7 separate regions of the Homo sapiens genome follow, and regions 2, 3, 4, 5, 6 and 7 are each linked to region 1. The links are contacts of gene promoters, found by promoter capture Hi-C in human tissues and cell types (Jung and others, 2019). All regions are on one chromosome and are shown on one strand. The core of a region is centred on a gene start or on the middle of the fragment in contact, and the rest is flanking DNA. Distances in the headings are between cores, read along the strand shown.

Region 1 (4,108 bases), core at 833-3,332:
AAAAAGAAAAAGAAAAAGAGATAAAGAAACAGAATTAAAATGTCCCTGGGCTGAAAACTGACATATTTTCCAAATGGAAGGGACAGTGCATGATACAAAGCATGAATCACAAACACCTGTGGACGCGAGACCACAAACGACAAAGAGAAAAAATCTTAACCTCCAAGGGGGAAAAAACCCGAGTCAGCTACAAAAGAAACGAGAACCAAATTAACAGAACAGTTGGCCAGGCACGGTGACACACGCCTGCAATCCCAGCATTTTGGAGGGCAAGGCAGGCAGATCACTTGAGGTCAGGCACTGGAGACCAGCCTGGCCAACATAGTGAAACCCCACCTCATAAAGACAAAAAAATAAATAAATAATTGATCAGACACTGGTGCTAGAAGAGAGCAACAGCATCACTTTCTGAGGGAAAATTATTATTATTTTTGTTGTTGAGATGAAGTCTCACTCTGTCGCCCAGGCTGGAGTGCAGTGGTGCAATCTCAGCTCACTGCAATCTCTGCCTCCTGGGTTCAAGCGATTCTCCTGCCTCAGCCTCCCAAGAAGCTGGGATTACAGGCGCGCGCCACCACACCCAGCTAATTTTTGTATTTTTAGTAGAGACAGGGTTTCACCATGTTGGCCAGGCTGGTCTTGAACTCCTGATCTGCCCACCTCAGGCTCCCAAAGTGCTAGGATTACAGGCGTGAGCCACCGCGCCCGGCCACAAGGTATCTTTTATAGACCACTGGTTTTGAAAAGACATAAGATTCAGCGTTGAAGAAAATACCTTTGGAATAGGCAGTCTTGATGCCTGCTAAAGGGGATATAAATTGATAAGGCCTTTTTGGACAATTTGGCAGTATCTGCTAACATTTCAAAAATGCATAGGCTCTGAAATATCAATTCTAAAATTCTAATTATGTAAGGCTAAAGAAATACCGCACGTGAACAAATATTTAAGTACTCACCCATTCTATGCAGCATTGTAATAAAAAGTAAAACCTGAAATAACCTTTATTGCGTCCACTAATAGGACAATGTTTAAACAAATGACACGTCCATCATACAGAATACTGTGTGGTCACTGGAAGGCACATGGACCTGTATACACTGACATGAAAAGATGTGGAAAGAATGCTGGGAGCGTTAAAATTTTCTGAAGTACAACGTAGCACAATGCATACATGGTTTAGGCTTTTTAGAATAAAAAATACTTATACGCAGACATTTATATTTACACGTATAACACTGTGTACAGCCCCGAAGCAATGCCGAAACTTTCACTGTTGTTACCTCCGAGTGGGGACTGGGAAAGCAGAGGTTAGGGTCGTTCTCTCTGTTTTACAAACATTTATTGGCGCATCCATCAATTCCAGGCCCCGAGGACACAGCTGCGTCAACGACATCGAGTCCACCTGCTCTGGGGACCCGGATGACTGCTATAGGTTTTGTTCACTGTGGCGTCCCCAGAACCTGCACGGCGCCGGGCACTGAGCGGGCGCTCACATGTGCGTCCAATGAACGAATTAACAAATGAACCCTCAGTGCGCTACTGGGAGGCGGGGAGGGGTAAAGCACGATCCATGGAACTAGCACGATCACCCCGAGTGAGTCCATTCCCCGCAACATGCACCCGCAAAGACTCCGCGCTCCGCAGCGGCTCCACCTGCACGTGCGCTACCTGACTGGACCGAAGCTCCAGGAGGGACGACCCCGCAGCCGCTCCGCCCGACCCCGCGACCCCCCAAGACCCAGCCTCCTTCAGGGCTCCCATGGGCGGGTGGCGAGGGGAGTCCAGCCGAGGAAAAGGCAGCCAAGCTGGAGCTGGCGAGGAGCGGAGCGAAAGTAAACGCGTCTGCCGCGCTTGGCCTCGCCGGACCTCCCACGCCTGTGAAGCAGGTGCCGGCGCCTCGCTCCCCGGAGCACAGGGACGTCCCTGCCGTCTCCGTGGCCCGGCCCGCCCGCTGCCCGTCCAGCCAGGACGCCCTCACCTCCCGGCACGGCCGCCAGCGCCGGCGCCCGCAGCAAAGGCCGCAGGCGGCGGCCCCACAGCAGCAGCGCCCGCAGCTCGCGCGCCATGTCGTACTCCCAGAGCGCCGCGCGCAGCCACGCGGGACCGTACACGATGGGAAGGGGCGGGACGGGGCTGCGCGGGGCGGGGCTTCCTCGGGCGCGGGGCGGTGACGTCACGGCGGGCGCCGGGCTGTCCGGGCAGCTGCCTGCTCGGGCGCGTGGCGGGGTACTACCCGTCTCGTGGACGGTCGGGCCTGGGGGTGGGACCTCCGTGACCTTGGATCGCGTTGTCAAGGGCGACGGGCCTTGCGCGCGGAGGTGGGGGAGGTGGCCCCGCCGCCCCCGGCCCACGCTGGCCGGCTGCGCCTAGCTGTGCGCATTCCTGGAATGGGGCGGATGTCAGTATCCACGCGAGGGTGTGGAGGCGACGCTGGGGAAGAAGCAGTTCCCGTGTCTGCGACCTTTGTGAATCCCGGCCATCCGTCTAGGCCGCTGCAAGTCTCTTGCAAACCAAGACTGGACAAAAAGCTAAAGCGAATGAGGAAGGGGATTCCAGGCTTGACTGGCTACTACTCCAAAACCTGAACCCAGTGACCAATACCACCAGGAAAACTGCGGTTATTCGTTTATTCCACTTCTCTTGTCCTTGTCGAGAAGAGTCAAACTCTAAAGTATTTAGAAGGTTATTCTGAGCCAAATATGAGTGTGCATGGAGGGAGGCACAGTCTCAAAAGGTCCTGAGAACTTGGCCCAAGGTGCTTGGGTTACAGCTTGCTTGGTTTTATACATTTTAGAGAGACATAAGACATCAGTCAATGCATGTAAGACATAGGTTGGTTCCGTGTGGAAAGGCAGGACAACTCAAAGGGTGAAATACTTAGAGGTCATAGGTGGATTCAGATACTTTCTGATTGGCAATTGGTTAAAAGAGTTGAGTTCTGGTTGGGCGCGGTGGCTCACGCCTGTAATCCTAGCACTTTGGGAGGCTGAGGTGGGCGGACTGCCTGCGGTCAGGAGTCCGAGACCAGCCTGGCCAACATGGTGAAAACCCATCATCTCTACTAAGATACAAAAAATTAGCTGGGCAAGGTGGCACGTGCCTGTAGTCCCAGCTCCTGGGGAGGCTGAGGCGGAAGAATAGCGTGAACCCGGGAGGCTGCGGTTGCAGTGAGCCGAGATCGTGCCACTTGCACTGCAGCCTGGGCGACAGAGCTGTGACTCCGTCTCAAAAAAAAAAAAAAAAGAAAACAAAAAAAAGAAAAAAAAGAGTTGAGTTATACAGACCTGGAATCAATAAAAAGAGTGTCTGGGTGAAGATAAGGGGTTGTGGGCACGAGCACGGTGACTCACACCTGTAATCCCAACACTTTGGGATGCCGAGGTGGGCGAATTGCTTGAGGTCAGGAGTTGGAGAGCAGCGTGGGCAACATGGTGAGACCCTGTCTGTACCAAACATACCTGTACCGGATGTGGTGGCGGAGGCCTGTAATCCCAGCTACAAGGGAGGCTGAGGTGGGTGGATTGCTTAAGCCCAGGAGGGAGAGGTTGCAGTGAGCCAAGTTCGTGCCATTGAACTCCAGCTTGGGCAAGAGAGCCACACCCTGTCTCAAAACAAACAAACAAACAAACAAACAAAAAACAGGTTGTGAAGACCAAGGTTCTTATTATGTAGAGGAAGTCTCATAGATGACCACCCTTACAGGTAATAGATGGCAAATGTTTTCGCAAATATTGTTTATTCAGACCGTTAAAAATTCCTAGACCCTCAGGATCAGGAAAAGACCTGCAAAGGTGGCCTGGCATGGTGGCTTACGCATGTAATTCCAGCACTTTAGGAGGCCAAGGTGGTCTTATCACTTGAGGTCAGGAGGTTGAGACCAGCCTGGTCGGCATGGCAAAACCCCATCTCTACTAAAAATACAAAAATTAGGCCAAGAGCAGTGGCTCACGCCTGTAATCCTAGCACTTTGGGAGGCTGAGGCGGGCAGATCACCTGAGGTCGGGAGTTCGAGACCAGCGTGACTGACAGGGAGAAACTCCGTCTCTACTAAAAATACAAAAAATCAGTCAGGCGTGGTGGCGCATGCCTGTAATCCCAGCTACGCAG
Region 2 (4,108 bases), core at 457-2,956, 500 kb after region 1:
CAAACAGCTGGAACTCCATGTGTGTGCCACCACATCCAGCTGATTTTTTTCATTTTTGTAGAGATGAGGTCTCGCTATGTTGCCCAGGCTGGTCTCAAACTCCTGGCCTCAAGCGATCCTCCCACCTCAGCCTCCCAAAGTGCTGGGATTACAGGTGTGAACCACGCTTACAGCATATTTTCACTTTGCCAGTCCACACGTGCCAGGCTCTCAGCTGGGTCATCTCCTGCCCTCACGTAGGACTCCATCTTTCCAAGGTAGTTTCCTGTGCTTATTCTTCTCTGATGCTCCTAGCAGCCCTCTGAGGCAGAAAAAGCAAGGGTTGTTAACCTCTCTTGAAATGAGGAAACAAACACACGGAAGTCAAGTCGTTTGCCTCACAAGTCATTCCAGGGATGGGCTGGAACTCAGGCCAAGAGACAGAACAAAGCTCCCTGGGAGCGACCATGACCTGCTGAGCTGTTCAAGCCCAGATACCCAGCTTCTGGGGCTGGGTCAACGTGTACCTGTGTGTTTCACAAGGGGATTCTACAGAACACCAGCATTTCGGACCCTCTGCACTAGCCATCCTCAGTACCAAGGGCCAGGAAGCTCTGTCTTGAAGTTGAAACTAGAGATGGAGAGAATAGAGGTCAGGACCTGTTTTCAGCCCACCTCTGGGTGTTGAATGTATTCAGTGCCTTCGTGCAATCAAATGTAGATTCTATTCCAGCCCGTCCAAGTCTCCTTAGCACATGTTTATAACAAGTACCTGCCAAGGTTATTCTTCCACATGACTTCTCATCCATTTGAACTAGAGCTAGCAAGTCCAAAGTCATGCGTAAGTAAAATACCTCTGACCATTACTCATACACAGTTATGCAAATCAGTCATTAGTAACAGAATCCCCAGCGGGGGCAGGAATCACTCTCCAAATCTCTGCCTGGTTCATCTGTCCCAGAGAGTGAGGAGCACCAGCCATGGCATACATGTGAGCCCCATGTCTTGCCCCCATCCACCCCCCGCCCCACGTTTTGGCTCTCATTGGCTGTATATTAAGTGCAGCAGGGAGCAATTCAGAAAACAGAGTTCATGCCGCAGAGCAGGCAGCCTGCCCCCTTCCTTGTTCTAGATCTTGTCTCTGAACACTCGTGGACCGGGCAAACGTGGGCCAGCAGCCTCTTCTGGTGTCCTGTTTTTCCTTGACTTTATCCTACTGGGTAAACATTCACTGCTCAGGACCCCTTGCTCTTCCACTTTTTTTTTTTTTTTTAGACGAAGTCTCATTCTGTCGCCCAGGGTGGAGTACAGTGGTGCGATCTTGGCTCACTGCAACCTCTGCCTCCTGGGTTCAAGCGATTCTCCTGCCTCAGCCTCCCGAGTAGCTGGGATTACAGGTGCCTGCCACCACTCCTGGCTAATTTTTGTATTTTTAGTAGAGACAGGGTTTCACCATGTTGGCCAGGCTGGTCTCAAACTCTTGACCTCAGGTGATCCACCCGCCTCAGCCTCCCAAAGTGCTGGGATTACAGGCATGAGCCACTGCACCCGGCCTCTTCCACTTCTTAGATGAAGTCTTAGGACAACTTTGCAGAAGGCTGTTGCCCATAAGGACCCGAGAAGAGAAATTCTGGCTGGAGGAAGGCTTGTCTGCATTCTCCCAGGACCCCTGAGGTCCTCTTCTGCCATTCTCTCAGCCTTTCCCTCTTCTCCCAACATGGGCGACCAGAGTGCAGGGGCTGAGGCAGCCATTCTTGGAAGGCTTCTTTGGCTTCCTGGCCATGCTCCTAAAGTCAAGGCTAATCCCACTGGGACAGCTTGTCCCTGGCTGGACTCTAGCCCTTAAAATGATTCATCCAGGGAATCAGATACAATGACAAAAGTATGACAGGGTACAATGACAAAGGTAGCAATCAGAAAGAACCTTGGGATTTGGGGGTCCAGAGAGATCTTCTGATAGACCAACTGGCTTGATTTCACTCATGAACAAAACCCCAAAACCCTGGTAAGTGCTTGTCCCAAGGCCATGGGGCTAGTTAAGGTAGTAGGCAGCAGTCTGCTTCTAGAACTCAGCTCTCTATGGACGCTCTCCCAGCAGTGGGCCAGCCAATAAGAGGGTCTAAGTCTACCCTAGGACAGTGATTTCTTAGCCCACCCTCTTCTACTCTTCAATAACAACTGTTTTAGGCTGGACGCAGTGGCTCTGAGAGCCCATGGCTCACACCTGTAATCCCAGCACTTTGGGAGGCCGAGGTGAGAGGATCCCTAGAGCCCAGGAGTTTGAAACCAGCCTGGGTAACAAAGCAAGACCTCTGTCTTGCTTACTACTTGCTTTGTCTTACTACTGGCCCATCTTTCCAAAAAATTTTAAAATTAGCTTGGCATGGTAGCGTGCGCCTGTGGTCCCAGCTACTGGGGAGGCTGTGGTTGACGGACCTCTTGAGCCTAGGAGTTTGAAGTTGCAATAAGCTTTGATAACACCACTATACTCCAGCCTAGGCAACAGAGGGAGACCCTGTCTCAAAAAAAAAAAGGATTAAGACTTCAGCACAATTGTTTTTAACCCATAGAGTCCTGAGAATTGACAGAATAACTTCACTCCTCACCCCACCTCCAATTCCTGGGAATTCTTGGTTTGGGAGGTAGAAAGAAATTACCAGAAATCCCACAACCATCATATATATACATGCTTGTCACTGATGCCTGGAGGAGTCATCAGTATAAATGACTATTCACTTTTATTTTATTTTATTTTTATTTTATGTATTTATTTATTTTTTGAGACAGCATCTCTGTCACTCAGGCTGGAGTACAGTGGTACAATCTCAGCTCACTGCAACCTCTGCCTCCTAGATTCAAGCGATTCTCCTGCCTCAGCCTCCTGAGTAGCCGGGACCACAAGTGCACGCAACCACACTCGGCTAATTTTTGTATTTTTTGTAGAGATGGGGTTTCACCACGTTTGCCAGGCTGGTCTCAAACTCTGGACCTCAAGTGATCCACCCGCCTCAAGTTCCCAAAGTGCTGGGATTATAGGCATGAGCCACGATGCCCAGCCACTATTCACTTTAAAAAGACAAATACCTCAGAAAGAGCAAAACATTATATCCTAACCCCTCAGTATGAGTCAATCACTAGCAGGGATACTCTATAGAGCACTCAGTTTTTCCAGAGATCAGCCGTGCCTGCAGTGAACAGAAATCCTTGCAGAAGGCCTTGGGCCTGCTGCCTCCCTTCAGAGGGGCCGAGCTGGGGAGGAAAGGGAAAGGAAGGGGAAAGGGATGCAGGCTGGGTTCTGAGACAGACCAAGGCAGGTGGCTGGCTTCCCCCCACATCCCAGTCCGAAGAAATCCAATCTCCCTGGGATCTGTGGGGATGAGGTGCTGGTCTAACTTTTGGGCCCCAGACAGGAAAAGACTTACTGGAAGCCAAGGGAGCGTGGCTCCCGCAGGTCTCAGTCTAACAGCTATCCTGGGTTAAAGTCAGAGCCATCTCCAGCTTGGCAGGTGAAGGGGTCAAGGAATCTGGGCCCACCCCATCCCCAATCCAGGGAAGCTGGAGGGAATCTTCTTGAGAAACGTGGGAGCTTGGGAAATGGGTGTGACACCTTCCCTAGCCTGAGCCAGGCCCACGGCTATGCCTTTTCTTTCTTCCTGGGGCTGAGGCTCCAGCCTCCTAGATAGTGGCTGGTCTCTCTGAATGCACCTGGAAGTCAGGAAAGCTGGGTTCTGCCCCTTACTCTTTTTCTTTTTTTACAGACCCTGTCCCTTAGAGACAGGGTCTTGCTCTGTCACCTGGACTGGAGTGCAGCAGTGTGACGAAAGCTCACTGCAGCCTTCCTACTTGTCACACTTCAGCCTCCAGAGTAGCTGGGACTACAGGCACGCGCCACCATGCCTGGCTAATTGTTTTATTTTTTGTAAAGACAGGGTCTCACTATGTTGCCCAGGCTGGTCTCAAACTTCTGGGCTCAAGCGATCCTCCAGCCTTAGCGTCTCAAAGTGCTGGGATTACAGGCGTGAGCCACTGGCCCCTCCCCTGCTGTCTTACCACTGGCGCCCCCACCCCCCGCTGTCTTACTACCCAGCGAAGTAACCTTGGGTTGCTCCTTACTCCCTCTGCACACAAC
Region 3 (4,108 bases), core at 455-2,954, 450 kb after region 1:
TTCCAGATCATTGGGGTACATGTCATAAGAGAATCCTAACTGATACACTATTAAATTCATTTCTTCATGACTTGTATGACCACTGAAGTTAATTTGTCCTATTGTAGTCCAGATTCAAAGAAGAGGAAAGAATCTCCAGACAAGTGTGGCCCACCAGCATGAAGAGGAAAGCTCTCCAAGCCATGAGGACCAAAAATGAGCCCCATCCTCCTATGCTCCTCTAGAAAATGTGCAACAACAAAATATATAAAATATAGTTTGGTTGCCAAAGAGAGGTCAAATGTTGAACTATGACAGTGATGGCATTCAAATGCATTCATCTTTAATGCTGCATCTGTCTACAAAAACGAAAACAAAGCAAGTAAAGCTCCTTGGTTAAAAATAGTGCTTTTTAATTGGCTGGGCCCAGTGGCTCACATTTGTAATCCCAGCACTTTGGGAGGGCAAGGCAAGCGGATCACCTGAGGTCAGGAGTTCGAGACCAGCCTGGCCAACATGGTGAAACCCCGTCTCTACTAAAATATTAAAATTAGCCAGGTGTGGTGGCACACGCCTGTAATCCTCATCTACTCAGGAGGCAGGAGAATCGCTTGAACAACAACAAAAAAAAATAGTGCTTTTTAAAGCAAACAGGTAAGGGCAAGGGAAAGGACATTGACTGGGAGGCAAGGAGTAAACTTAAAGGGAAAACAGCATCCCACAGATGTGCCCTTGAGGTTGACGCCAAGCCAGAAAGGGTGGTTCCCTACAATTCATCTGGACCCCTAGGAAGGGGCAAAAGTTCAGAAATCCTAAGCTTTAATATAAGGGAGAAGGAAGAGTGGAGGGCAGGGAGTCATTTTCTTTTTTTTCTTTTTTTTAAAATTATTATTTTTTTTTGAGACACAGTCTCGCTCTGCTGCCAAGGCTGGAGCGCAGTGGCGTGATATCAGTGCACCACAACCTCTGCCTCCCGGGTTCAAGCAATTCTCCTGCCTCAGCCTCCCAAGTAGCTGGGAATGCAGGCATGCACCACCACACCCAGCTAATTTTTGTATTCTTAGTAGATATGGGGTTTCACCATGTTGGTCAGGCTGGTCTGGAACTCCTGACCTCAACTGATCTACCCGCTTCGGCCTCCCAAAGTGCTGGGATTACAGGCCTGAGCCACCGCGCCTGGCCCATTTTCTTAGATTAAGAAGCAACACCTCCCATGGTCCAAGCCAGCCGCCTCACACTCCGTAAATAAACCATGCTGATTCAAACCCAAATGGCTTTGCTCAGCTCTCACCAAGCCTGGAAGATCTTCCCTTCTCCTGTCTACTTAATCCAGTCCCAGCCATCCCTTAACACCTAGTATAAAAGGTTCCTTCCTCGCTGTCATCTCTCTGATGTCCCTCTCAACCAGATTCCCACAGCACAGAGAATCACAGCTGGAATGGCCCTGATGGAAAGCATCCAACTTGGCCATCCCTCCTGCTGAAGCTCTTGATTATGTGTCTGATGTCGACTGTTGTGTTGAGATGGGCAAGAACAGAACCACAAAGAAGTTCCCTCCTCCTCTGAGTGATCAAGCCCCAGCCATCTGGAGAAACCAAGGTGAAAAAGTGACTGAGAAGCGTGTCAACAGATAAATTACCCAACTTAGCAAGCCACACTCGCAGATCGGGGTCTTGTCTTTACAGAGATCCCATATTTTCCATGAAACCACCTTTATTATCATCACCTGTTGGAAACAGAATGGGTAAAGAGAGATAGGGAAGGAAAAATATGAATGACCAATGATCTAATTTGCAGCAGATAGGCCCAGGAACAGCTGCGGAGGTGCCATGACTGCTCACAGCCCCACCGACATTGCAGTGTGACCGTCTGCGTGAGCTCCTAGGCAGCGTCCAAAAAGTCAACCCGACCTGCACATGGATGCTGCCCGGAACATTTGGCCAAGAGGGGTCTCTGTATTCAGCTCCAGATGCTGACATTGGCTGGTGGTGATTCTGACCCCCTCACCCTCACCCCATTTGGATTTTAACACGTGCAGGGTCTCAGCTGTTCTTAGGCCTCAAAACAGTAACCAGGAGTCAAGGCATAAAGCTGGGTGGCCCTGACGGCTCCTTGCTGATGGAACTGACTTCTCTGAAGACAAAAGACATGGATTAACAAAGCCTGAGGATACAGAATATTTGAAATCCACACAGAAACTTGGTGCCCTTCCTGTCACCACGGAATTAGCCCTGGGATTTACAGTCATGCACTGCATACTGATGTTTTAGTCAATGATGAACTGCGTATGCAACGGTGTTTTTTTTTTCCTGAGACAGGGTCTCACTCTGTCACCCAGGCTGGAGTGGGAATGCAGTGTGGCACACTCTCAGTTCAATGCAGCCTCGACCTCCCAAGGCTCAAGCAATCCTCCCACCTCGATCTCCCGAGTAGCTAAGACTATAGGCATGCATCACCATGCCCAGCTAATTTGTGTATTTTTGTAGAGACAGGGGTCTCACTATGTTGCCCAGGCTGGTCTCAAACTCCTGGACTCAAGCAATCTGCCCATCCCAGCCTCCCAAAGTGCTGGGATTACAGGCATAAGCCACCACGCCCAGCCTGCAACAGTGGCTCTATAAGCTTATAATACAGTATCTTTACCGTACCTTTTCTATGTTTAGATGTGTTCAGATACACAAATACATACCATTACATTACAATTGCCTACAGTACTCAGCACCGTAGCCTGCTGTACAGGTTTGTATTGCTTGCCATATAGCATCGGTGTGTAGTAGGCTGTGCCATCTAGGTTTGTGTAAGAACACTTTGTGATGCTTGTACAATGATTAAATCACCTAAGGATGCATTTCTTAGAACATACGTATTCCCATCATTAAGCGATGCATGACTATATTTCTATTAATGATCCTGCCATCTTCTTCCCCATCCTCTAGACTTGCTGATCATCTTGGATTCCACTTTTTTTTTTTTTTTTTTTTTTGAGACGGAGTCTCACTCTCGCTCAGGCTGGAGTGTAGTAGTGAGATCTCGACTCACTGCAACCGTCACCTCCCGGGTTCAAGCAATTCTCCTGCCTCAGCCTCCCGAGTAGGTGGGACTACAGTTGCACACCACCACGCCTGGCTAATTTTTGTATTTTTAGTAGAGACGGGGTTTCGCCATGTTGACAAGACTGGTCTCAAACTCCTGACCTCAGGTGATCCACCCACCTCAGCCTCCCAAAGTGCTGGGATTACAGGCGTGAGCTACCATGCCCAGCCGAAATTTTCTTTTCAAAAAACAGACTGTTTTCTCCAGGTGGTAACAGAAGAGCAAGTCAGGTACTTAAAATAGGAGGGGGATTTGATGCACTGTTGCTAGATTGGAAATGGAGGGGCCACAAGGAAAGGACCAGAGAGTGGCCTCTAGGAGTGGAGAGCAGCACCCAGCAGACAGCCAGCAGGGAAACGGGGGCCTCAACCTACAGCTGAAAGGATGGAATCGCCCCCACCTCCATGAGCTTGGAAGTGGGTTCTTTCCTGGAACTTCTGGATGAGTGCCTGGCCCCCTCACACCTTGATTTCAGCCTTTCCAGGTCCTGAGCGGGGGGCCTGGTAGAGCCTGCCTGGACTTCTGACCTATGGAACTGTGAGATGATAAATGGATGCTGGTTTATGCTGCCACATTGTGTGGTCATTTGTTACGCAGCAACAGAAAACTAATACAGTCTCCTAACTGGGGCCAGTTACCAAAAGAAGACATTTCGGCGGCAGAGGGGAGTCTCCATGACTAACTTTGTCTTCTTCACACATCTCCTCCCCGTCTAGAAAGCCTTCCTAGCCCCAGTGGGTACCGTCCTCTGTTGCTGGGTATCTCCCACTCCCTTGGCCCTGGGCAAACACTGCCTGTCGGCGGGAATTCCCTGCTCCTCTATGACTTCACCTTCTTCTTCTTCTCCAAAGCATTCAACACAGAGCAAGCACACAATAAATATTTGCTGATTCAGCCATTTTCTTTCAGCTCCTATGACCAGCAGGACCAATGAAGGGGTTCAAAAACTGCCTGGCCACAGGCAGACAGAGAGCCTTTCCCCTCAGACTCTGGCTTCATGGCTTCCCAGGATTCACAAAGCGCCTGGATGGTAACA
Region 4 (4,108 bases), core at 797-3,296, 410 kb after region 1:
ACTGGGGAGGCTGAGGCAGGAAAGTCACTTGCACCCAGGAGGTAGAGGTTGCAGTGAGCCGAGATCAAGCCACTGCCCTCCAGCCTGGCAACAGAGTGAGGCTCCGTCTCAACGAAAAAAAAAAAAAAAAAAGAGGAGGAAATTAGGACATACAGAGGCACAGAAGGAAGATGGTGAGGAGACACAGAAAAGACAGCCATCTATGAGCCAAGGAGAGAGGCCTCAGAAGAAACCAACCCCGTCCACACTGTGCTGTCAGTGACAACAGAACTGTGACAACATACATTTCTGTTGTTCAAGCCACCTCATCACCAATACTTAGATATAGCAGCCCTAACAAGCTAATCCAGGTGGTAAACTTTCTGGTATGTGTATTTTACCACAATTAGTAATAATAGGCTGGGCATGGTGGCCCATGCCTATAATCCCAGTGCTTTGGGATGTGAGGCAGGAGGATTGCTTGAAGCCAGTTGAAGACCAGCCTGGGCAACAACACAAGACTCCATCTCTACAAAAAAAAATTTTTTCTTCTTTTTGAGATAAAGTCTCACTCTGTCTCCCAGGCTGGAGTGCAGTGGCACCATCTTGGCTCACTACAACCTCCACCTCCCAAGTAGCTGAGATTACAGGTGTGTGCCACCATGCCCGGCTAAATTTTTTTTTTGTTTTTTTTGACATGGAGTCTCACTCTGTCACCCATGCTGGAGTGCAGTGGTGCAGTATCTGCTCACTGCAACCTCTGCCTCCTGGGTTCAAGCCATCCTTCCAACCTCAGCCTCCCAAGTAGCTAGGATTACAGGCGTGTGCTACCACGCCTGGCTAAATTTTTTGTATTTTTAGTAGAGATGGGATTTCACCATGTTGGCCAGGCTAGTCTCGAGCTCCTGACCTCAAGTGGTCTGCCCACCTGAGCCTCTCAAAGTGCTGGGATTACAGGCATGAGCCACTGTGCCCGGACTAAAAAATTAAAAAACAACAAAACAAAACAAAACAAAAAAAACTTAGTTAGGTCTGGTGGTTTCTGCCTATAGCCCCACCTACTCAGGAGGCTGAGGCAGGAGGATCAAGTAAGCCCAGGAATTGGAGGCTGCTGTGAGCTATGATTGCACCACTGCACTCCAGCCTGGGCAACAGAGCAAAACTCTGTCTCTAAATAATAATAATGAAAATAAAATCATAAGCCTAAGAACATGCAAGTGGAAAACAACCACCACCTGCCTTCCTAGAGCGCACAGACTTCCCGCAGCTCAGAACGGAGCAGGCATGGTGAGTGTTATTAGAAAGGCACCCGGGAGAGTGCAGAAAGACAGGAGGTTCATGTGGACAGAGCAGATTTGGAAAAGCATCTTTGATACAGGAAGGGTGAGAACGGTGTCTTGAAAGAGGTGGTAGGACCCTGCCAGGCAGCCATGGGGCTAAGAGGAAAGAGTTCCAGAAAGAAAGGCACTGTGGGCCAGGGAGCAGGGTGCATTGTGAGAAACAGCACGTGGTGTGGCCCGGGCAGATAAGTGGCCAAGCCAGAGGTGCAGGGCTAGACAAGCAGGCAAAGGGGTCGGTAGGTAGGGCCAGGCTGAAAGGTCAGGATGAAAGTCATTCCAAATTCTGCCCCTGCAAGGAAAGCTTTTTATTTATTTATTTATTTATTTATTTATTTACTTTTTTTGAGACAGAGTCTCACTCTGTCACCCAGGCTGAGTACAGTGGCACGATCACAGCTCACTGCAACCTCAACTTCTCCAGGCTCGAGTAATCCTCCCACTTTAGCTTCCTGAGTAGCTGGGACTGCAGGTGCACACCACCATGCCCAGCATTTTTTTTTTTTTTTTTTTGGAAGAGGCGCAGTCTCACTATGTTGCCCAGGCTGGTCTCCAACTCCTGGGACACAAGTGGTCTTCCATCCTCGGCCTCCCAAAGTGCTGGGATTACAAGCATGAGCCACTGCACCTGGCCTGAGAAACACTATTTTTAAATTTCTATTTCCTGAGCAGGGTTGGAGAGCGTGGGGCTGCGCCTCTCCTAAAGGCACTTGCCAGTGCAGTCCTAGTAATCGCTTCCTGCTCCTTGCCTCCTCCGCTGGCTCCCTGGAGTCCTTGCAAGCCAGTCTCAGGCTGAGTTTCAGAAAGCTGTGGAGGGCTGGGTGTGGTGGCTCACACCTGTAATCCCAGCATTTTGGGAGGCCAAGGCAGGCAGATTATGTGAGGTCAAGAGTTCCAGACCAGCCTGTCCAACATGGCAAAACCCATCTCCACTAAAAATACAAAAATTAGCCGGGCATGGGTGGCATGCAGCTGTAATCACAGCTGCTCGGGAGGCTGAGGCAGGAGAATCACTTGAGCTGGGAAGAAAAAAAAAAAAAAAAAGATGTGCAGGGTATTAAGCACTTTAAGACCAAGCCAGCAGATGATGAGATGCGGTTCCTCTACGGCCACTACAAACGAGCGACTGTAGGCAACATAAAGACAGAACGGCCCAGGATGGTGGACTTCAAGGGCAAAGCCAAGTGAGATCCCTGGAATTAGCTGAAAGGGGCTGCCAGGGAAGATCCCATGAAAGCTAAAGCTTACGTCAACAAAGTAGAAGAGTTAAAGAAAAAATTCAGAATACGAGAGACTGGAATTGGTTGCCAGCCATGCCTTTGTCCTAAACTGAGACAATGCCTTGTTTTTTCTAACACTGTGGATGGTGGGAACTGATGGAAAGAATCAGCTAACCCATCCTCAAGGCTACTCAGGATAAAGTTCTAATAGATTAGGGGCTAAAACGATTACTGACCTTCCCTCAGTAGTTTTTATCTGAGATCAATTAAGTGTATTTGTGGCTGACTGTGGTGCCTCACGCCTGTAATCCCAGCACTTTGGAAGGCCGAGGCGGGTGGATCACCCGAGGTCTGGAGTTTGAGACCAGCCTGGCCAACATGGTGAAACCCCGTCTCTACTAAAAATACAAAAAGTAGCCAGGCGTGGTGATGTGCGCCTGTAATCCCAGCTACTAGGGAGGCTGAGGCAGGAGAATCACTTGAACCTGGGAGGCGGAGGTTGTAGTGAGCCGAGATTGCACCACTGCATTCCAGCGTGGGGGACGGAGCGGGACTCCATCTCAAAAAAAAAAAAAAAGGGTATTTGTTACTTTAAATTAAAAATATCTTTTTCTACTTCCACTGCACAGTCATTTTTCTGGCTCTCCCCACCACACCCCTCACCCTGCACAATTACCCCTCTTGCATGTACCTCTCTAGCCGTGAATCTTCAGGGATGGGAATATGAGGTTCTTGAGATGGGATTCATCGCGGGAATGACTCCAAGAAAAGCTGCCAAGTGAGGCTTTCATTCACTTCCCCAAGATGAAAGAGCTGATCTCTCGCCTGTGTTCCCCTCACAGTCAGGACCTGCGTCTGTTATTTACCACCATGCAATTTAAAATTAGATGCGTGTCACCTGAGGCTCTAACAGCTGGAAGGCTTTAAAATTAGATGCGTGTCACCTGAGGCTCTAACATCTGGAAGGCGGTGATCCAGTCACATTTATGCCACCTGAGGGAACAATCCCGGGTAAGTAGTCCCAGCGGGGCTCAGAGGTTCAGGCTTGTCCCACACAGGGTCCAGGAAGGGCCGGCACTGGGGCAGCCTGGCTCCTGGGCCGTGGGGCTTCAATGCAGGCTGTCCGCACTTCATTGTCCCTCACCACACCTGCTACTAGAAGCCCATCGGTGACCACAGTTGGAGAGAGGGAAGGCCACACGAAGCAAGAAGTGCTGCAAAATCGTGCGATGCTGAAAAGGGAATGCTTGTTTGCAGTTTCGTTCTCCCTGGTTGAGAGCCAACTTTCTTTAATAAGCACAGTTCAAATCCTGGTAAAATCCAAAGCCTGAAACCACCTTTTCCCACCTCTTGAGTTGCACAAACGTGCATTCACAGATACCAGGGTGCAACATGCTGGGACGTTATATTACGTGTAAATCATCATACAAACACCCTGGGCTTTTGAAACATGGCTTGCAAGAGGGTTGCACCCAAACTCTTGGGCCAGGCACAGTGGCTCACGCCTGTAATCCCAGCACTTTGGGAGGCTGAGGCGAGGAGTTCATTGACATCAGGAGTTCAAGACCAGCC
Region 5 (4,108 bases), core at 480-2,979, 410 kb before region 1:
AAAAATAGCATAATGGCCTGGTAATGGCCTCTCATCTTCATTCTCACCTTAAACTTACCTTAGATGAACTGCCATAGAAAGCAGCTCAGTCCAAAACGCTCAAATGGTGCTCCAGGATTTACTTTTTTGTATTGTTTTGTTTTGTTTTTTGCGACGGAGTCTCGCTCTGTCGCCCAGGCTGGAATGCAGTGGCGTGAACTCGGCTCACTGCAAGCTCCGCCTCCCGGGTTCACGCCATTCTCCTGCCTCAGCCTCCCGAGTAGCTGGGACTACAGGCGCCCACCACCACGCCCGGCTAATTTTTTTTTGTATTTTTTAGTAGAGACGGGGTTTCACCATGTTAGCCAGGATGGTCTCGATCTCCTGACCTCATGATCCGCCCGCCTCGGCCTCCCAAAGTGCTGGGATTACAGGCGTAAGCCACCGCGCCCGGCCAGGATTTACTTTCTTAAATGCACTCTTTTCATTCCCATTCAAAGGACTCCAGTATAAGTGCCACATAAACTCGTTTTCTAACTTTTAAAACTCTTCCTCTAAATGCAGCCCAACTCAGTAAAAACGTACCTAAGATCTCACAGTCTAATGTTTCCAGCTTTTAAAGCCTTTACTCCTACCCTTCCCTCTGCCTGGAAAGTGTCTCCATTCCCTGCTGTGGACAAAATCCCTCAAGGTCTTTTATAATTTCCCCCAACCCCAAATCAACTTGGATTTTCTTGGAGTTCTCACAGCATTCAGTTTATGTCCTATTCTTACCCTTGTGTTACTGATATTCACGAAATTGCTCAGTCCTTTCAAGAGATTGCTTAAGGACAAAGACTTCTTACTCAACTCTGCAATATTGGCTACACATAGCTGACTTAATAAATAGTCCCTTGACTGGTATAAGCTGACGTTACAAAAACTGGTAATTCCGAAACCACTCATACTGGACTTATTAAATAATCCCTCAACTGGTACAGACTGACATTACAAAAACGGATTAATTCAGAGATCACTGAACACCCAAAACACTCAGATTCTTATAACTATGATTCAGTAAATATGTGTGGAATGCCTATCTTACCAGGTGACTATGTTAGGCGCTGCATGAGATATAAGATGAAAACAAGGTTCCCATTTTCCAGGGAAGAATACTGGAGTGGAAAACGCAGAGGATACCACAACAGGAGAGCTATTTCCGATTAGCGGCCGCCACTGCTGAGCTATGTGACCCTGAGCAAGTCACTTCTTAGGTCTCCGTTTCTCTGTCAAGGAGAGATAGAAAAAGAACCTATTTCACAGGTTCAAACCTACCTCAAGAAAAAATAGTTGTGGGGAATGCGTCACGAGACCTAGAAAACGGTACAAAACCCTCGGGGGGCCGCTGTTTCTGACCTAGCGAGTGGCCCGACCCGGACAAAATGCCTCTTCCTCGAGGAGGCGGCGACGAGCCCAGCAACAGCTCGAGCACGGCCGGCCGGGCCGCGGGAAGCCCGAGAACGCGGCGCGCGCAGCTGGGAGGCGACCCTTACCCGGCGAGGCTCCCGGGACCAAACGCCGCCCGACAGCCACGCAGAACAGACGCGGCAGTGCGACGCCTCCCCCACTGGGGACACGAGACAGCGACAGCCACGCGGTGAGCCGGTACAAGGCCCTCTAGGCTTCAGCGGGTCTGGATACTCGGTGGCATTAACCCTTCCCTACCGCCGGGGAAGACAGCAGTTTCTCTGGCGAGGAAGTAGGCCGGGCTCAGGCGCCTTAGCCAGAGGGCGGGCCTGCGCCACCCTCGGAAAGCGTCACTTCCACTTCCGGCCGGCGCTCTGGCTCTGTACCTGGACAGGGCTGCGGTAGGCCAGCGGTGGGCTGGCGGTTGCGCTCCTCAGATCGGCGGCCTTTCGGGCGGTGGCTTGCGTTTGAGCCTCAGAAAGCGAGGAGCGGCCTCCACGGAAGCCAAGCTGGCCGAGGTAACCGAGAAGCGGCTTCCCCTATGGCTTCGACCCTGGAGCCGCTGGAGCGGCGGCGGCCGCAGGGAGGCAGCCATTTTCCGTAGGCGGTGGCCGCGGCGCTTCCGGGCCGCGCGGCTGGAGCCTGAGGCGGGGCCACCGTCGGGCACGAGAAACCATTCTCTCCCCGCTTTTCGCAGCTGTATCCCAGAGGCGCGGCTGAAGCTCGCTGGGACACTGCCCGCTTGCCCAGTGCCCACGGGCACGCCTGTCGCAGACACAGGCTGTGGCGAATCCGAGTGCTGGCGGGCAGCAGTGCCTGCAGCTGCGCCCGCAGACTCTTTCCCGCCTCCGCCGGCATTTCCGTGTCCGGCCGATGTCATGCGGTCGGTTGAGCCTCAGGGCTAGCAGCTTCTACTGATGCAAAAACATAGGAAGTGTCTCTTTGCTTCTGGAACCGGGGTGGGCAGCAAGGAGCTGGCCACTTCTTTGAATACCGGTGGCATCCTGGGCAGAATTTCGGTGCCGTTTCTGCTGGCTCACTTCAGGAAAAGTGAGGCTCACGGCTCTCCTCAGCCCCCCTTAGAAGTCTAAATGACCTTTGGAGAAATACAAAGTCAGCAGAAAGTTTCACTTTCATCGTCACCAACTCCTGTTGGAGTTGATATTTCATAAACATCAGCGACAGAAAGAAAATACGACTTGATATTTTGTAAATAAAATATCCTTTTTTACAAGTTGATATTTTGTAAACAGAGGTCAGCTGTAATTTTCTCCAGATCAAGTAAGCACAGTTAAAAATTCATATAGGCCTGGCGCGGTGTTTGACGCCTGTAATCCCAGCACTTTGGGAGGCCAAGATGGGTGGATCACGAGGTCAGGAGATCGAGACCACCCTGGCCAAGATGGTGAAACCCTGTCTCTACTAAAAACACAAAAATTAGCCGGGCATGGTGGCACGCGCCTGTAATCCCAGCTAGTCGGGAGGCTGAGGCAGGAGAATGGCTTCAACCGGGGAGGTGGAAGTTGCAGTGAGCTGAGATCACGCCACTGCACTCCAGCCTGGGTGACAGGGCGAGACTCCATCTCAAAAAAAAAAACAAAATTCGTATAAATCATCTGCATGGCACCCTTTATGTGTGTTGCAAAGAATGATGAGCATCTTGTTGCTTACTTGGGAGACATTGTCTGAAAATAGGCTACTTTTTTACTTTCTGTAGTACCCCCTCCCCCCACTGTATCTGGGTTTCACTTACCCGCTGTCAACTGCCATCCAAAAAATATTAAATGGAAAACTCCAGAAATAAACAGTTCATAAGTTTTAAATAACTTTTTTTTTTTTTTTTGGAGATGGAATCTCGTTTTGCTGCCCTGGCTGGAGTGCCGTGGCACAGTCTGAGCTCACTGCAGCCTTCACCTCCCGGGTTCAAACAATTTTCCTGCCTCAGCCTCCTGGGTAGCTGGGACTACAGGCGCGCACTACCACACCTGGCTAATTTTTGTGTTTACAATAAAGAAGGTTTCACCATGTTGGCCAGGCTGGTCTTGAAGTCCTGGTCTCAGGTGATCCACCCACGTCAGGCCTCCCAAAGTGCTGGGATTACAGGCATGAGCCACGGCGCACCGCCAGTTTTAAATAACTCTTACTACAGTGTTTTATTGTTAATCTCTTATTGTACCTAATTTATAAATTAAGGTATCATAGCTATGTATACATAGAGAAAATAGTATAATGCAGTTAGATGCTGTTGGGGGTTTTAGGTATTCACAGAATGTACTGGAACTTACCCCCCTTGGAGAAGGGATACTACTGTATTTTGATCTCACCGTCTCAGCTCTTTTGCCAGTATTCCTACAATGGAAAATCTAAAATGTTGTTTTTTAAGGTGCCTTTATTTTTAGTTTTTAAATTAGAGACAAAGTCTTGCTCTAACTCCCAGGCTGGAGTGCAGTGATGAGGTCATGGCTCACTGCAACCTTGAATTCCTGGGCTCAGGCGACTCTCCCACCTCAGCCTCCTGAGCTAGAACTACTGGTGTGCTCTACCATCCTGGCTATTTTTTTTTTTTTTCTTCAAATTTTGTGTTTTGTAGAGACGGGGTCTCGCTATGTTGCTCAGGCTGGTCTGAAACTCCTGGCTCAAGTGATCCTCCCACCTCGGTCTCCAAAAGTGCTGGGAATGCAGG
Region 6 (4,108 bases), core at 455-2,954, 380 kb after region 1:
ATCTTACAAAGCTTAAAAACAATTGCCAGAACTAGGCCGTTCAACCCCACATTTCCTGGGCCTCCCCTAAGCACTCAGTCCTCTGTGTTTCTGCCCTGCGCCCCACGCCCTCAGCGCAGCACCTCGGAGCCCACAGTCCCAAGCTGTCCACACTCTGGCGCCCCTGGGCCCATTCACATTCCCAGGCACCATGCGCTGGTCAGCCCTCTCGGCCACCACCTTTGCTAGAGCCTATCAAGACCCTCCGGAGCCTCTATTTAATGAACCACTCAGTCATTCCAGCAAAGCGGTTACTGCCTTTCCTCTACCTGGAGGCTTGTTCTGTGTAGATGTTTGGGGTGTGGTTTCACACATAACAGGGTACTCACATGTGGAGTTACATATATATATATATATATATATATATATATATATACACACACACACACTATATATATGTATAAATACATATGTACATATATATATATATATATATATATATTTTTTTTTTTTTTTTTTAAGACAGAGTCTTGCTCTGTCATCCAGGCTGGAGTGCAGGGGCGCAATCTCAGCAACCTCCATCTCCTGGGTTCAAGAGATTCTCCTGCCTCAGCTTCCCGAGTAGCTGGGATTACAGGTGCCCACCACCATGCCCAGCTGATTTTTGTATTTTTAATAGAGATGGCATTTCTCCACGTTGGCCAGGCTGTTCTTGAACTCCTGACCTCAGCTGATCTGCCTGCCTTGGCCTCCCAAAGTGCTGGGATTACAGGCATGAGCCACCATACCAGGCTTATATTTACTTATTTATTCATTCATTTATCAGCAAATATTATCACACATATATTATATGCCTGGCTATATTCCCAGCGCTAGGAACACAGCAGGAAGTAAAACATGGAAAATTCCTGCTCTTAAGATGCATTCCAGTGGCGTGGAAACAGATTATAAACAAAATTAAGTCAAATACATATGATGCAAGCTGGAAAAGAGAGTGGCTGGCCCATAGCTCCAGGAGGCACTGTTGAAAGCAAGGCTCCTACTAAGGGAATTCCTGGAGTTGGGCCTTCTGGAATGTTCCACAGCGGTCCTGAGGGATGGGGTTTGCTGGGCTGGGGGAGGACTCCTCAGTCTGCAAACATGTCATCTACGTTTTGGTTTGGGATTTTTTGTTTTGTTTTGTTTTTGTTTTTGGTTTTTTTTTTTGAGACAGAATCTCACTCTGTCACCCAGGCTGGAATGTAGTGGTGCAATCTCAGCAACCTCTGCCTCCCGGGTTCAAGTGATTCTCCTGTCTCAATTTCCCGAGTAGCTGGGACTACAGGTGCACGCCACCAAGCCCGGCTAATTTTTGTATTTTTAGTAGAGATGGGGTTTCACCATGTTGGCCAGGTTGGTCTCAAACTCCCGACCTCAGGTGATCCGCCCGCCTCGGCCTTCCAAAGTGCTGGGATTACAGGCATGAGCCACTGTGTCTGGCCTGTAATATTCATTCATTTATTCATTCATTCATTCAGCCAATATTATCAGGCATGTATTATATGCCTGGCTATATTCCCAGCACTAGGAACACAGCAGGAAGTAAAACATGGAAAATTCCTGCTCTTAAGATACATTCCAGTGGCGTGGAAACAGATTATAAACAAAATAAGTCAAATACATATGATGCAAGATGGAAAAGAGAGTGGCCGGCCCATCGTTCCAGGAGGCACTGTTGAGAGCAAGGCTCCTACTAAGGGATTTCCTAGAGTTGGGCCTTCTAGAACATTCCGCAGCTGTCCTGGGGGATGGAGTTTGCTGCAGGACTCCTCAGTCTGCAAACAGGTCATCTACATTTTGGTTTGGGATTTTTTTTTATTGTTTTGGTTTTGTTTTGTTTTGCTTTGTTTTGTTTTTGGAGACAGAGTTCTCACCGTGTCACCCAGGCTGGAGTGCAGTGGTGTGATCTCAGCTCACTGCAACCTCTGCCTCCCAGGTTGAAACAATTCTCCTGCCTCAGTTTCCCGAGTAGCTGGGATTACAGGTGTGCGCCACGACACCCGGCTAATTTTTGTATTTCCAGTACAGACAGGGTTTCCCCATGTTGGCCAGGCTGGTCTCAAACTCCTGACCTCAAGTGATCCACCCGCCTCAGCTTCCCAAAGTGCTGGGATTACAGACGTGAACCACCACGCCCGGCCTTTTTATTGTTTTTTTATCACGATTTACCTACATTCACAGACACCTGCCCCTCAACAGGCATTAGTGGGAAGATACAGAAAGAAATTCTACATTGCTCTCAATTGTAGGAATGCAAATTAAAGCTTCCAAGGAACTCGAAGATGCACAAACCGTTTCTTGGGTGGCATTATTTCCTCATAGAAACATGCATATACTATTCATTTTCTTTTCAAAAAAGATGAGGGTAAACTTTAGCTCAGTCTCTCTGAATAAACATATCAGACAAACAGAATTAATGAGATTTTAATACCTATAATTTCTCAACTCTTTAAAAAGGTTACTAAAAGGGTATGAAAGTTATCAAAGACCACTGGGGTTGCATGAAGAGGACTCAGCAGCCAACTTAAAGGGGCTCCCATGGGCCCCAAATGGGACAATCTGAGCATCAAAAATCATGTATCTGTAATGGAATGAAATACATCAAATAAGCTAAAATCCAAGAGTTTATATTGATTCTTGAAAAAAATCACCTTTGGAGGACGTTAAGAAACCATCTCAGCTGGGTGCCTTGGCTCACGCCTGTAATCCCAACACTTCGGGAGGCCAAGGCAGGAGGATGGCTTGAGCCCAGGAGTTTGAGACCAGCCTAGGCAACATGGCAAGACCCTGTCTCTCTCAAAAATTTGAAAAAATCAGCTGGGCGTGGTGGTGCACATGTGCAGTCACAGGGAGGCTGAGGTACGAGGAGCACTTGACCCTGGGAGGTTGATATAGTTTAGCTCTGTGTCCCCACCCAAATCTCATCTTGAATTGTAATCCCCATGTGTCGAGGGAGGGACCTGGTGGGAGGGGACTAGATCATGGGGGTGGTTTCCCCCATGCTGTTCTCGTGAGAGTGAGGGAGTTCTCACGAGACCTGATGGTTTAAAAGTGGCAGTTCCCCCTTCGCATGCTCTCTCTCTCACTCTCTCTCTCTCCTGACACCATTTAAGATGCGCCTTGTTTCTCCTTCATCTTCTGCCATGATTGTAAGTTTCCTGACGCCTCCCCAGCCATGCAGAACTGTGCCAATTAAACCTGCTTTCTTTATAAATTACTCAGTCTCAGGTAGCATCTTTTTTGTTTGTTTGTTTCTGAGATGGGGTCTCACTCTGTTGCCCAGGCTGGAGTACAGTGGCGCGATCTGGGCTCACTGCAACCTCCACCTTCTAGGTTCCAGCGATTCTCCTGCCTCAGCCTCCCAAGTAGCTGAAATTAGAGGCGTATGCCACCACGCCTGGCTAATTTTTTGTATTTTTAGTAGACACGGGGTTTTGCCATGTCGGACAGGCTGGTCTCGAACTCCTGAGCTCAAGTGATCCGCCCGCCTCAGCCTCCGAAAGTGCTGGGATTACAGGCGTGAGCCATGCACCTGGCCTCAGGTAGCAACTTTATAGCAGTGTTAGAATGGTCTGATACAGGTGGAAGCTACAGTGAGCCGAGATTATGCCACTGCACTCCAACCTGGGCAAAGGAGTGAGACTCTTGTCTCAAAAAAAAAAAAAAAGAAAAGAAAAAAACAAACTCAGTCTGTAAATGGTATAGAAAGGGAAAGAACCAAGCAAATAAAAGCATCTAAACACACACGGCTCCCAGGATCCTAGGATTTCACAGTGGCTGAGACAGCAGGATACGTGAGGGCAGGGTACATGACAGCAGGGTAAATGCAGAGAGCTAAAGACAGGTATCGTTGTTTTGGCTGTTGCTGCCACTGCTAAGAAAATTATTCCAACTTTCAGTAACACTAGCTCTTCTCTACTGACAGGTATTATGTGCCAAGAACTTTTCTAAGAACTTGTATTTTCTCATTTAATCCTCGCAGCAATTCTGTGAGATGGGTACTAGTGTTTTCTAATACAGCCTTTGGGTTTAAATACTGGCTCCACCATTTAGTATCCCTTTCTGGCTGTGTGATCATCACAAGTTACCT
Region 7 (4,108 bases), core at 1,107-3,606, 310 kb before region 1:
TGAGACGGAATCTTGCTCTTTCGCCCAGGCCCGAGTGCAGTGGCGCTATCTCGGCTCACTGCAAGCTCCGCCTCCCGGGTTCACGCCATTCTCCTGCCTCAGCCTCCCGAGTAGCTGGGACTACAGGCGCCCGCCACCGCGCCCGGCTAATTTTTTGTATTTTTAGTAGAGACAGGGTTTCACCGTGTTAGCCAGGATGGTCTCGATCTCCTGACCTCGTGATCCGCCCGCCTCGGCCTCCCAAAGTGCTGGGACTACAGGTGTGAGCCACCGTGCCCGGCCGATTTCTTTTTCATCTGGGTAATGTTTGGTATCTGGATCTCTCCCTATTTAAGTCTCAGAAGTGGACTGGATGGCTTCAGAAGTTGCTTCCAGCCTCTATCTGGGAACCTATCCTGAGTTATTAACAGGTTTTTAGAAAATCCAACTACTGATACCCAGTGAGGCAACAGAGGACCAAGGTTCTTACCATTCCTTTATGCACCTTGTGTCACCAGAAGTAATTGTAAGGTTCTTAAATCCCTTCTGTCAGCTCTTCCCCCACCCAACTTAGTTTTCCTACTAGCAGAATTCTTAGCAGATAGGGTCACCCTGTTGGGTAGCAGTTGGACTTTGGGGAACTTCATTTCATTGGAAGTTCTAGCTTATTGTCTTTCCAGTGTTTAGCTTATAGTCTTTTTTTTTTTTTTTTTTTTTTTTTTTTTTTTTTTTTGAGATGGAGTCTTGCTGTGTTTCCCAAGCTGGAGTGCAGTGGTGCCATTTCAGCCCACTGCAACCTCTGCACCCCAGGTTCAAGCGATTCTCAGGTCTCAGCCTCCTGAGTAGCTGGGTTTACAGGTGCCTGCCACCACGCCCAGCTAATTTTTGTACTTTTTAGTAGAGAGGGGGTTTCACTATGTTGGCCAGGCTAGTCTCGAACTCCTGACCTCAAGTGATCCTCCCGCCTTGGCCTCTCAAAGTGCTGGGATTACAGGCGTGAGCCACCACACCTGGCCTAGCTTTTTGTCTTTGATTTTTTTTTTTTTTTTTGAGACTGGGTCTCACTGTGTTGCTGAGGCTGGAGGGCAGTGGCACGATCTCAGCTCGCTGCAACCTCCATGTCCAGCTCAAGTGTTCCTCACACCTCAGCCTCTCAAGTAGCTGGGACTGCAGGTACATGCCACCATGCGTGGCTAATTTTTGTACTTTTGTAGAGACAGGGTTTCTCCACATTGCCCAGGCTGGTCTTGAACTCTTCTTGGGCCCAGGCGATCCGCCCGTCTTGACCTCCCAAAGTGCTGGGATTACAGGAGTGAGCCACACAATGCCTGACTAGCTTATTGTCTTTGGATCAGGAAGTTACAGTTCAACTGGCCAGCGTTGCCATTGCTTGCCACTCCCCGCCCCGAAGTCAGACCCCAGTCAGGACCTAGGCAAGAAGCAAACGGCAGGTACTTCGGAAAATAGAACTTGTTAGGGAATGAAGGTGGGGTGGTCCTCTTAGACCCCTACTACTACTGGGATCTCCTTACCAGGAAAGCCTTTGGCAGAACAATGTATTAGGTAAGAAGGACTTTTAACAGCCCCTCACCATACTGCTTCCTGTTCCTACAGGGCCTATTTCCAGCAGAAGTAGGTGGGGGGTGGTGTGTAGAGTAGGCATCTGATGGCCCAGTGTTGTGACTGACCCTGATATTTGTGCCAGCAACTACCCTGATGACTTTGACTCTGGCCCTTGAGAAAGGCCCAAGCTTTAGGGGAAGCCACTCGGCTGATTTGTAGCATCCTCATTCCTGTCATTCTTCACGTTCTCCCCTTTACTTCCTTTGAGGGTTTCAGTGGTTTCTATGAAAGTTGACCTCTAGATGGTTATCAGCAATTCCCAAGGTAAACGGGTCATTATACAACAGTGAGAGATCAAGCTTCCCTCAGTCCTGATGGATGGAATTAATGGATGGGGCTTGTTCCTAGGTGGCCGTTTGTATGCAGGGGCAAAAGGTGCTCTTGGAGAAAACTGGATCTCAGCTTGGAGAACAGGAACTGCCAGACTTTCAACCGCAGACTCCTAGGAGAGATCTCAGGGAGAGCTCTCCAGCAGAGCCTTCCCAGGCAGGAGCTTATGACCGGCTGAGCCCCCATCATTGGGAGAAATCCCCACTCCTCCAAGAACCAACCCCCAAATTGGCTGGGACAGGTAAACACTCTGCCTTTTCTCTCCCTCTCATCAGCCCTTTATCTCCATCAATGTATCTCATGGTTCTGCAAAGGCATAGACCACATGTGTGTGTTTTTTTAAATGTTATATATAATAGTAGATGATTATTCACTAAACAAATTTCACTAATTAGGATGGTGGTGATACTACAAGTAAGTATGTTTTTATCGTTTTCTGTTAATGAAAATTTAAGAATCCAGTGCATGACAGGGTTGTACCTACTTTTCTGTCCGTTTCAGAACTTCTTATAGAAAAGACAGATCCAAATATGGCCACAGATGAACTTCCATGCAAGCTATGGCTGAGTTTCATTGCTTAAAATGCTCCTCTGTTTAGAGGGGCCTGGTAGAAATAAAAACCCACCCTATATCTTATATCTTTGTCCTCCTCTGTGATGTTGCTTGTACTTTAGATCCTCAAATCTATTTCCCTTTCTCTGGTGTGATACTTGTGTAACTGCTGGCCTTGTTCTACACAGTCCTGTGATCTCTAAGCCTGAATGACAGTGACATTTTGGCCAAGCCTGGTGATGTGAATACAAGATACAGTGAGCACGTTAGGGAGGAGGGTTACAAGACGACAAAAATCCTCAGTTTCTTAATATTTGCTACATCCAATGAGGTACTTCGTGTTTTAGTCTGTTCAGGCTGCTAATATAAAATGCTAGAGACTAGGTAGTTTATAAACAACAGGAGTTTATTTCTCACAGTTCTAGAGGCTAGGAAGTCTGAGTTCAAGGTGCCAGCATGGTTGGGTTCCAGTGAGGCCCCTCTTCCAGGTCACAGACTGCCTACTTCTCAGTCCTCATGTGGCAGAAGGGGAAGACAGGCTCCCGTGGGGCTCTTTCATGAAGGCACTAATCCCATTCCAGTGAGGGCAGCACCCTCATGACCTAATCACCTCCCAAAGGCCCCATGTCCTAACACTATTACCTTGGGAGTTAGAATTTCATATGAATTTGGAGGAACATAAACATTTAGCCCCTGGCAACCACAGTCTACTTTTTGTCTCTAGAATTGCTTATTCTGAACATTTTATACAAATGGAATCACACAGGCCGGGCACAGTGGCTCACGCCTGTAATCCCAGCACTTTGGGAGGCCAAGGCAGGCGGATCACTTAGGCTCAGGAGTTCGAGACCAGCCTGGGCAACATGGCGAAATCCTGTCTCTACAAAAAATGCAAAAATTAGCGGGGCATGGTGCTGCACACCTGTAATCCCAGCTGCTTGGGGGAGCTGAGGCAGGAGGATCACTTCAACCTGGGAGGTCGAGGCTGCAGTGAACTGAGATCGTGCCACTGCACTCTAGCCTATGTGACAAAGTAAGACCCTGTCTCAAAAATAAATAAATAAATAAATTGAATCACACAATATGTGGTCTTTTGTGTGTGGCTTCTTTCACTGAGCATGTTTTCAAGTTTTATCCATGCTGTAGCATCAATCAGTGCTTCATTCCTTTTCTGTGGCTGAATAATAGGCATTGTACGGATATATTACATGTTGGTTTTCTGTTCATGTTGGTTCATCTGTTCATAGATTTTTGGGTTGTTTCTACTTTTTGGTTATTATGAAGAATGCTGCTATAAATGTGTGTTTTTGTGTAGACATGTTTTCATTTCTCTTGAGTATATACCTAGGAGTGGAATTACCATATGCTAGGTCATGTGGTAATTCCATGTTTAACTTATGAGGAACTACCAGACTGTTTTCCAAAGCAGCTACACCATTTTACATCCCCACCAATACTGTGTGAGGATTCCGATTTCTCCACATTCTTGCTAGCACTTGTTATTGTCTTATACCCATCCTATTCGGTGAGAAATTTTGATTTGAGGTTTTGATTTACATTTCCCTAGTGACTAATGGTGTTGAACATCTTTTCATGTGCTTATTATCCAGTTACATATCTTGTG

What was found. The method cuts DNA at HindIII sites, captures the fragments that hold promoters and counts their contacts. A contact is called where the count stands out against the background at its distance.
Region 2: a fragment that was not itself captured here is called in contact with the fragment with the promoter of TRAP1 in region 1 in 2 of the 25 tissues and cell types used here (aorta and mesenchymal stem cells).
Region 3: a fragment that was not itself captured here is called in contact with the fragment with the promoter of TRAP1 in region 1 in 4 of the 25 tissues and cell types used here (IMR-90 fibroblasts, hippocampus, lymphoblastoid cells and 1 more).
Region 4: a contact is called between a fragment that was not itself captured here and the fragment with the promoter of TRAP1 in region 1, in 3 of the 25 tissues and cell types used here (adrenal gland, dorsolateral prefrontal cortex and lymphoblastoid cells).
Region 5: a contact is called between the fragment with the promoter of TIGD7 here and the fragment with the promoter of TRAP1 in region 1, in 1 of the 25 tissues and cell types used here (small bowel).
Region 6: a fragment that was not itself captured here is called in contact with the fragment with the promoter of TRAP1 in region 1 in 3 of the 25 tissues and cell types used here (dorsolateral prefrontal cortex, liver and lymphoblastoid cells).
Region 7: a fragment that was not itself captured here is called in contact with the fragment with the promoter of TRAP1 in region 1 in 1 of the 25 tissues and cell types used here (lymphoblastoid cells).

The regions. Positions count from the first base shown.
Region 1 is chr16:3,715,442-3,719,549 of GRCh38, forward strand. TRAP1 (TNF receptor associated protein 1) reads right to left here and starts at 2,083. Exons shown (of 18, transcript NM_016292.3): 1 at 1,980-2,083. The coding sequence starts at 2,067. RefSeq lists silencers at 1,684-1,803, 1,824-2,433. The HindIII fragment of the contact is 28,184 bases long and covers 1-4,108 here.
Region 2 is chr16:4,213,535-4,217,642 of GRCh38, forward strand. All of the region lies in intron 1 of SRL (sarcalumenin), which reads right to left. Among named protein-coding and RNA genes, the nearest start is that of SRL, 26 kb to the right of the region's middle. The HindIII fragment of the contact is 4,807 bases long and covers 1-4,108 here.
Region 3 is chr16:4,165,657-4,169,764 of GRCh38, forward strand. No RefSeq gene overlaps it. Among named protein-coding and RNA genes, the nearest start is that of ADCY9, 51 kb to the left of the region's middle. The HindIII fragment of the contact is 3,313 bases long and covers 49-3,361 here.
Region 4 is chr16:4,128,218-4,132,325 of GRCh38, forward strand. It overlaps the pseudogene DBIP3. Among named protein-coding and RNA genes, the nearest start is that of ADCY9, 14 kb to the left of the region's middle. RefSeq lists enhancers at 3,123-3,624, 3,625-4,108. The HindIII fragment of the contact is 5,808 bases long and covers 1-4,108 here.
Region 5 is chr16:3,303,701-3,307,808 of GRCh38, forward strand. It overlaps TIGD7 (tigger transposable element derived 7), which reads right to left and starts at 1,730. Exons shown (of 2, transcript NM_033208.4): 1 at 1,512-1,730. ZNF75A (zinc finger protein 75A) reads left to right here and starts at 1,797. Exons shown (of 7, transcript NM_001302109.2): 1 at 1,797-1,943. RefSeq lists an enhancer at 1,291-1,820. The HindIII fragment of the contact is 22,904 bases long and covers 1-4,108 here.
Region 6 is chr16:4,097,074-4,101,181 of GRCh38, forward strand. All of the region lies in intron 2 of ADCY9 (adenylate cyclase 9), which reads right to left. Among named protein-coding and RNA genes, the nearest start is that of ADCY9, 17 kb to the right of the region's middle. The HindIII fragment of the contact is 5,701 bases long and covers 1-4,108 here.
Region 7 is chr16:3,402,476-3,406,583 of GRCh38, forward strand. It overlaps ZNF174 (zinc finger protein 174), which reads left to right. Exons shown (of 3, transcript NM_003450.3): 2 at 1,951-2,173. Among named protein-coding and RNA genes, the nearest start is that of ZNF174, 3.3 kb to the left of the region's middle. The HindIII fragment of the contact is 3,410 bases long and covers 652-4,061 here.